Linked DNA regions of Homo sapiens: all the other regions are linked to region 3. Evidence: promoter capture Hi-C in 16 types of primary human blood cells and fetal thymus (Javierre and others, 2016). All regions are on one chromosome and are shown on one strand. The core of a region is centred on a gene start or on the middle of the fragment in contact, and the rest is flanking DNA. Distances in the headings are between cores, read along the strand shown.

Region 1 (2,700 bases), core at 148-2,647, 240 kb before region 3:
CTGAGGCAGAATTGCTTGAACCCAGAAGGCAGAGGATGCAGTGAGCCAAGACCATGCCATTGCACTCCAGCTTGGGCAACAAGAGCGAAATTCCATCTCCAAAAAAAAAAGTAAAATCAGTATGTGTGAAGATAGGTAGTGGAGACCACACTTATTTTGAGAATGAAGAAAAATGGAGAGATCACCATAAGCTGAAACTGCAGAGGATTATTTTTTTTTAATCATATGGTTATATATCTTTATCCAAGCTCTAAAGGCTGAGCTGAATTTGCATAGGTGGAAGCTCAGAAACAAATATTTTAGGCGAGGGAAAAGAATTGGTCCAAATTTAAAGGTAGAAATGAGCATAGGAAATGTTGATGCTATCTTCAACAGGTGTTTTACAATATAAAGTTTGTAAATGTATTTTCACAGAAACAATGCCTCTTTTCAGACATTAGAATAATGCTGTTACAACTGTTAAAGCATGCTTCATTTTGTGTTTGGAAATTAATCTGCTAACATCACAAAATACATCATTTGCATGCAGACTTGTAGAAAGAAAATCAACACAGGGTCATGATGCCCATCAAGTAAATTCATGCCACTTATATACAATAGTGTTGGAAGTTAAATTGTCTAAAATTAGTTAATGATTCTAGTGTTAGTATGTACACTACAATTTAGGTAAATAAACTCAAATTCAAACAGGTATATTCTCAAAAAGTAAAATTTCCATCCTGATAATTGACCATAACAAACATATACATAAACTAAGCTTTACAATAATCAAAGCCTTAAGTAAATGTTACATTCTGTAACAGATATTTTGTACTAGAAAGCAGATCACAGGAGGGCTTATTGCCCTTCTTGCTTAAAAAAGAAAATCCAACCAGAAATTCAAATTTAAAATGACAAAATATGGGTTCCATATAATGTATCTTGACTGCTTACTATTATTTATTCCTTGGGTCTTCATAACAACTGACATAAAATCACATTGCAACATTTTTTTGTTTTTAAAACACCTGGCTTTAGCACCACCGGGAAAATTATTTTATGTTTTTTAAAATTCATGAATATGTATCAATATTATCTCTATTATTTACATTATCAGTTAATGTCTAATATAGAGTTTCCAGGGTTAGCGTATAAAAATATAAGATGCACAGTTAAATTTGAATTTCAGAAAACTGCAAATTATTTTTAGCATAATTATATTCCATGCAATATTTTGAGCATAGTTTGACTATAAAATTAGTTTATCTGAAATTTAACTGGATGTCCTCTACCTTTTCTGGCAATTTTAGCATAAAACAGTGCATTGCATTCTCAAAAGCAATTGTTTCTACAACCTTCTTTTCTTCTCATCATATACCATGGTGTCTTGTGGCCTGTGATTTCAGTTATAATTCTAATCCAGGCTGAATCAAGGCAGTTGGTATTTATACATTTTTCTCACACAAAATTATGTTTTCTAATAATTTACAAAATTTTAACTTTCTAATAATTGTTTACTATAACTTGTTTACTATAACTGTTAAATCTTGTCACTGAGGCCTTCCTATAGATTGAATTCTTAGTGTAATTTATACTTGCACTATTTAGAACAGATAGATACCATTCCTAATTCCAGACTGCCATTTTGCAAATATTAGGAAATGCTTTCTCTCTTTACTTTAATTCAAAGATTAATAGTTTTTGACTCTTTCTCAGAATCCTGTGTTTAATAGTAAGAATCAACTCTCTTCTTTTCTTCCTGCTCATTCTCAATCTCTTGCTCTTTTTTCTCTTTGTCTCTTTTTCTTTCACGCATACATACACGCATACAGCACACACACACAAACACACACATCCTGACCTACCACAACCTATGGGACTATAATATGCTTTTATAGTTCCTACCAAGGTAGTTCTTGAAGCCATAGAGGTACTAAGCCACTGTGTATTCTCTGAAGATGTGATATGATTTGTATGACTTTTCTAAAATGTATTACTGAGTGGTTCAGTGACTAAGTCTATTTCCTTCTTTCAGGACTTGTAAATGAGCCTCTTACCAAAAGCTTTTTATTAGAATGGCAATTGACTGTTTTCTAATCTGTTATTGCAATGATTTTAGCCTGTGAAACAAATCTAGGCATTATTCTGAAATAATGAGTGATGTTTGAAATAGAGAAGTTTAAACCTGAGCTTCAAGAAAAATAAAATAAATACATCCTTGGACAGCCATTTGTCATTTGTTTTGGATTTTGTTCATAAAATGGAATAATCTATTCCTTTAATATTCCTCAATAATGGTTAACTTTTTAAATTATGTCCTCTGCCAAAGAAAAGTATACTCAATACAAGGAATACAGATTTCCCTTTCATATATGTGGTAATTTTTCTCTACCTAACATTTTATCTGAGTACTTTCAATAAAACAGGCAAATAGGATAAATGTATTGTTTAGTGAAATATCAAAAAATCCTGAAGGTGATCAGGCATTATTGAGACATATACTAGTTCTTCCAGTATAGTGGAAAATCATTTGAAACTGTATTAAATAATCACCTATCAAATTCTCTGCAGTTACAGTGAATGTAGAGACTTACAGTCCAGTTAGCTGGTCATTATTCTACTTCCAGGGACCAGTTAGTGGCCCATTTACTCTAATTTCACACTTGAAAGGCAAAGAAATGTATAAACATTATGTTAACATTCATGCAATGAAGAAAGAAG
Region 2 (2,700 bases), core at 36-2,535, 220 kb before region 3:
CTCTTGGCCTCAAGCAATCCTCCCACCTCAGCCTCCTACCTAACTCTGACTACAGGTGTGTACCACCATGTCTGGCTAATTTTTTAATATTTTTAGAGACAGAGTCTCAATATGTTTTGAAGGCTGGTCTTGAACTCCTGGCCTCAAGCAGTCTTCCTGCCTCAGCCTCCCAAGTCACTGGGATTACAGGTGCAAAGCACCATGCCCTGCTAAGATATACTGTTAAGTGCCAAATGAAGGTTATTGTGCCAAGTATGCTACTATTTGTGTTAAAAGCAGAAAAATACATGTTCTATGTAAGTGTATGTACATAAACATTTGCATGTATTATATGCTTAAATATGAATGTCTCCAGACAGGCTCATAAGAAATTGTGGATGCTTCTGGGAAACAGAGCTGGCATGAGACACTTTCCATTGTATAACTTTTTGTACAACTGAACATTTTTTAAAGTGCACATATTATCTTTTTCTAAAATAATAAAGTAAAATCTCCAAGTTAATTCTGATACCTGGAACTAAAAGCCATTGGTCCAGTATAAAACATTTGGACCTTGATAAATCCACTGCATAGTATAGCACATGTTCTTAACCTTTATTGTGCCATAGACCCCTTTGATAGTCTAGGAGAGTGTTTGGACCCATTCTCTATAAGTTTTTGATGTTTTAAAAATGGATAAAACTAAAAATATACAATTATAAAAGAAACAAAGTATGTTAAAATTGGTTTTTAAATATTAGACCTGGCAGTAGGTCTAATATCAGCCAGACTTTTGTAATACTGATGAATATGAATGATATTTTGGAAGAGCTAAACAGCTCTATTGTGATATGAAAACATCTTCAACTACTTTTTGTGGGAAAAAATCACACATAATGCTAATCCTAATGATTTGCTATATAATTACAGGAAATGCTAAATTCCAGTACAAATGAGTGAAAAATTAAAATGTGATTTTTTTTTCCCTCCTTTCCAAGCTCACAGATTGTTCCTAACATCTAACCAGGGACCCACTGAGTGTGTATGGACTCCAAATTAAGCACTCTGTATAAGAATGCACTGGGCTTACATCCCTTCATATCCAAAATAAAAAATGTAATACAGACCTTTATCATAGAGGTTTCAAATTAGTATTAAAACATTACTTTAGAATTTTTCTTAATCCCAATTTATACGTATGCTTGGACTAAATATTTATTGTCTCCAAGATACTGCAGACAACAAATTAGCCAAAAATACTATGACCGTTTATCTGGGTTTATACTACCATGAAATAAAAATATATCTAATCACTCAGTGAATCCCTTCCATATAGACATCTGTTAATATTAATTCTATCTTTTCTTTGTAATAGAACTTTCCCTCTTTTCCCCACCCCACCCCCAAATCAGTGGATTGAATTTTCAGCATTTTCTTTATTTTTCTGTTATGCAAAGGACTCAGCCAGTAGCATCCCCCATACCTTTCCACATTATCACAATTGGCTACCGAAACCTACATCTTCATTCCATTTTATATAGTATTAACTTTGTAAGCCTGGAAAATATGATTGAAAGAAATTGTTCAAGTTCCAATGTCCCTGACTTTTAAACACTGTTTCTTCCTTTTGTCTCAACCATCAAAAGTGTTAATACTTCATACCCTGTTTAGGTTGTAAAATGTCCACTTGAAACCCTTAATCAGTCAGAACGTTGGTAAATTATACCTTCATGCTATCCATATTGAGTACCCATTACTCCTGGACATAGCACATTAACTGACTCATTAGCTATTTCAAACCATATGGACTTGGGTTTGGGTGGGTCATTTTGATAATATCCTGAGGTGAGTTTCCTAATTATTGCAATTATGTGATCTCAATCATGAGGTCAGGCTCACAAAATAGTGTCAGTGCCTTTAGAATGGGTGTCACTGCACCCAGACAATGACTGAGATGAGCAACATGCTCTTTGGTTGTTATAAGTCCCTTGATACTAAAGAAAGTAATTACTTGAAAAGTTCTGTGAAACCGCCAGGAACAGCCTGTGAATTGAGTGAGCATGGAATGCTATAATGCTTGACAGTCATGGATACATTGCCTAGAGTTCACAGTGGGAAAATGTGAATGCCACAGTGCTGATGCTACGTAGACATTATGTTTCTAATGTAAATTTTGTATAGTGTTTTAAGCAACAAGGCAGATTTTGTAAAAGTTGAGGGGAGTAGGAAAAGAGCAAATGTAGGAAAAGAGTATGTTGTCATTGAGAAATTCTGTGATGGTGTCACAAAACGAATATGAGAGGTAAGAAATTCATATACTGTGCTGCCCACGATGGCTCACGCCTGCAACCCCAGCACTTTGGGAGGCCGAGGTGGGCAGATCACTTGAGCAGAGGAGTTTGAGACCAGCCCAGGCAACATGGCTAAACTTCATCTCTATAAAAATACAAAAATTAGCTAAGCATGGTGGCCCTTGCCTGTAGTCCCAGCTACTCAGGAGGCTGAGACTGAGGGATTGCTTGAACCCAGGAGGCAGAGGTTGCAGTGAGCCAAGATCACACCACTGCACTTCTGCCTGGGCAACAGAGCAAGACCCTGACTCAAAAAAGAAAAAAATATGAGGAAGTTTACGTACTGGAAGGTAGGATAGATATCAAGAGATATTTTTAAATAATTACAGAGGTTGTTTTACTATGGTAAAATATACATAACATAAAAGTT
Region 3 (2,700 bases), core at 154-2,653:
AAAATGTTTAAGATTTAAATAAACTGCTAAGGCAGGTACAAATTGGAATTCTAGCTATAGCAATGGTCATAAAAGAAACTTTCATCTAATCTCAATTCTAATGGGTGTACTTGTTTCCTAAAAGGCCTTAGCAGATATAGACATACATAACAGTATTTTGCCTAAAATTAGGTATAACATGCTTCCTGTAAAAAAAAAAAAAAAAAAGTAACTTAAAATTTTTCAACTTTTCTAAATGTTGTCTACAAGAGAATCATATTTTCAGCTAGGTAATTCAAGAAGAATACTTCTAATTGGAGAGGGAAAGGTGGATTAACTTTTTTCCATATGGAATAATGAATTTTTAACCTCTACTTTCTGTGATGGTCATATGGTAATTCCACATATACTCAAAGACTATGCGTGATGGTGGGGAAGTGGGCACAAGGTTGAGTGTAATGGTCAGAAAGGAAAAGTCTACACTCCTAACCTAAGGTATCCTGGTGCAATGTAAAGAGAAAAAAATCCAGGACTGAAATCACACAGCCTGCGTTTAAGGGATTCTGATGTGATCATCAGCAAATAACGTCTCCGGTTTCCCATACCTTGATTTCTTCAACTAGAAAATGGGAATGATGATTCTTTTAAAAATTTCTGCCTCAAAGGGCTGAGGATTAAGTGAACTATTTACCTGGAAAGCGCTTTGTAAACTTCAAAACCCTACACATGTGTTAGTATGTGTAATAAACTCCATATGAGAGGCCACTGGAATCAGCAAAGTTAATTAATTCCATTGCTGTCATGCTTCTCCTAGAAGATATTGTAACTGTGGGTGTACAGGTACATACGACTTGGCAAAGGGCCAAAATAAGGTTTTCTTCCCAAATGTTCTTTCTACAGGAAACACGAAAATAATTAGCCCAGATTCCCGAGTGAACTCATCAACATCCGTGGAGGTGGAGGGTGTTAAAATCGAGTTAAGGCAAAATTTACAAAAAAAAAATTAAAAAACAGTCAATTGCGGGACACTGAACGAAGAAGGAAGCCAAACTCGGGGAAGGGCTAGGGAGAGAGGAGGCGTGGCCCCAGCCCCGCTCCACGCCGCGCGCCTCCTCGCTCCCCATCCAGCGCGGCGACCACCGGGGTGGCGGCGACAGCGGCGCTTCTCAAACCTTTAGTCTCCCAAGAGCCGTTACGCGCCGCCCCTCTCAATCCCCACAAGTCTGGGCCCCTAACCTCCTAGCCCGTCACAGACTTCTCCGCGCAGCTACGCTGCAAGAGGCTCTCTTAGCTAGAAAGCAACCACTGGGCGGGTACCTGAGCCGAGATGAATCCCTCATACACGGTTTTCGACCGGTTCTGGGGCAGAAGCAGGGGGCACTGGCGCAACAGGCTCGCTTCCGTCACCGCCATGGCTCGAAGTCCGGAGAAACACAGAAAAGCTCTAGACCTGCTGGGTCCTGCACATGCGCAGTCCGCTGGCGCTCGGACGCCGCGGAGCGGAAACCCCAGCCTTGGCGGGAAGATCCTGGAGGATTCCGCGGGCGGAAATGAAGGTGAAGCGCAGGCCAGGCCAAGTGGCGCTCTGCGGGAGGCGACATCAGGGCTCCCCAACCGGTAGTGGGAGGGAAGATTGCCCTCAAGTCCACAGGACTGACTGACCAAGATCATTCTAGCCTCAATTGTCCCAGGAGCCCTTTCGATGATTCTGTTTTACTTTATTGAAAGACTGTTACAACTTTGGTGTTGCATTTCCTCCAGAATAAAATGACTTTTACAGCCTGGACGTTGTAGCACTCTGTCTTCTTTGCTGTTGTCCTCTCTCCCTTAACATACAGAATAATGTATTATTTTGTGTATAATTATTGTAATATAATGTATAACACATTGATTATATCATATATATTACAGTTCTGTGGCTTACTAAGTTCAATCAGATATATTTGAGGCACACACATGTATACGTATATGTGTATTGATTAGACTCAAGTCAACACTGGACTCAGTTCTGTGTACGGCACTCACAAATATATAAAGCAAAACATGAGTAAAGATTGCTGATGGACTTGAACTTAATTTTCCTCTGACAGCGCTTGCAATATGTTTTTCTAACTCAGGAATGTTATCCATCCCATCTTATTAAGAGTTGATTAAATAAGAAACCTACTAAAATATTTACCATATGATTATTTGATTTTCCAATTTTCCAATTTTCCAATGCATCACGTTTGAGCCCTACTATTTGAAAAACATCATTGTAATGTGCCAAAGGTTGAGCAAAGATTATTTCGTCCCCTACCCATCTTTATTGACCTCAAGACAGAATTTGACATCCTGAAGATTCTTAAAGTTTGACAAGAATTTGTCACAGCATTCTGGATGCTTACAGAAAAGAATGCTGGAGCAGTGGTTAGATATAAATTACATTAAAGCAGTGGTTCTCAAAACGTGATCCTAGAACCTAGCAACAGCATCACCTGGGAACTATGTAGAAATACAAGTTTTCACCGCTGATGGGGTTCAGGATATGCTACCCCAAAATATGGCCCCTTGACATTTGAGAAAACAACAAAACCTAAGATCACTCTCTGACCTTCTCCCATCCTTCTTCCCTGAGGCGGGTCATTGGATCCTCAATCCAGAGGTGCTCTTCCTATACCCACAGGAAAGAAATATCCTTATCTCTAAAGAAACGGAGACATAGAAAAGAATCTGAACAAA

What was found. The method cuts DNA at HindIII sites, captures the fragments that hold promoters and counts their contacts. A CHiCAGO score of 5 or more calls a contact.
Region 1: a fragment that was not itself captured here is called in contact with the fragment with the promoter of FANCL in region 3 in 1 of 17 cell types (monocytes); the score reaches 5.8 in monocytes.
Region 2: a fragment that was not itself captured here is called in contact with the fragment with the promoter of FANCL in region 3 in 1 of 17 cell types (activated CD4 T cells); the score reaches 5.2 in activated CD4 T cells.

Annotation. Positions count from the first base shown.
Region 1 is chr2:58,002,377-58,005,076 of GRCh38, forward strand. It overlaps a transcript of VRK2 not described here. Among named protein-coding and RNA genes, the nearest start is that of VRK2, 43 kb to the right of the region's middle. The HindIII fragment of the contact is 1,285 bases long and covers 756-2,040 here.
Region 2 is chr2:58,020,294-58,022,993 of GRCh38, forward strand. It overlaps a transcript of VRK2 not described here. Among named protein-coding and RNA genes, the nearest start is that of VRK2, 25 kb to the right of the region's middle. The HindIII fragment of the contact is 4,178 bases long and covers 1-2,700 here.
Region 3 is chr2:58,239,922-58,242,621 of GRCh38, forward strand. FANCL (FA complementation group L) reads right to left here and starts at 1,404. Exons shown (of 14, transcript NM_018062.4): 1 at 1,297-1,404. The coding sequence starts at 1,392. RefSeq lists a silencer at 1,002-1,051 and an enhancer at 1,592-1,751. The HindIII fragment of the contact is 7,787 bases long and covers 1-2,700 here.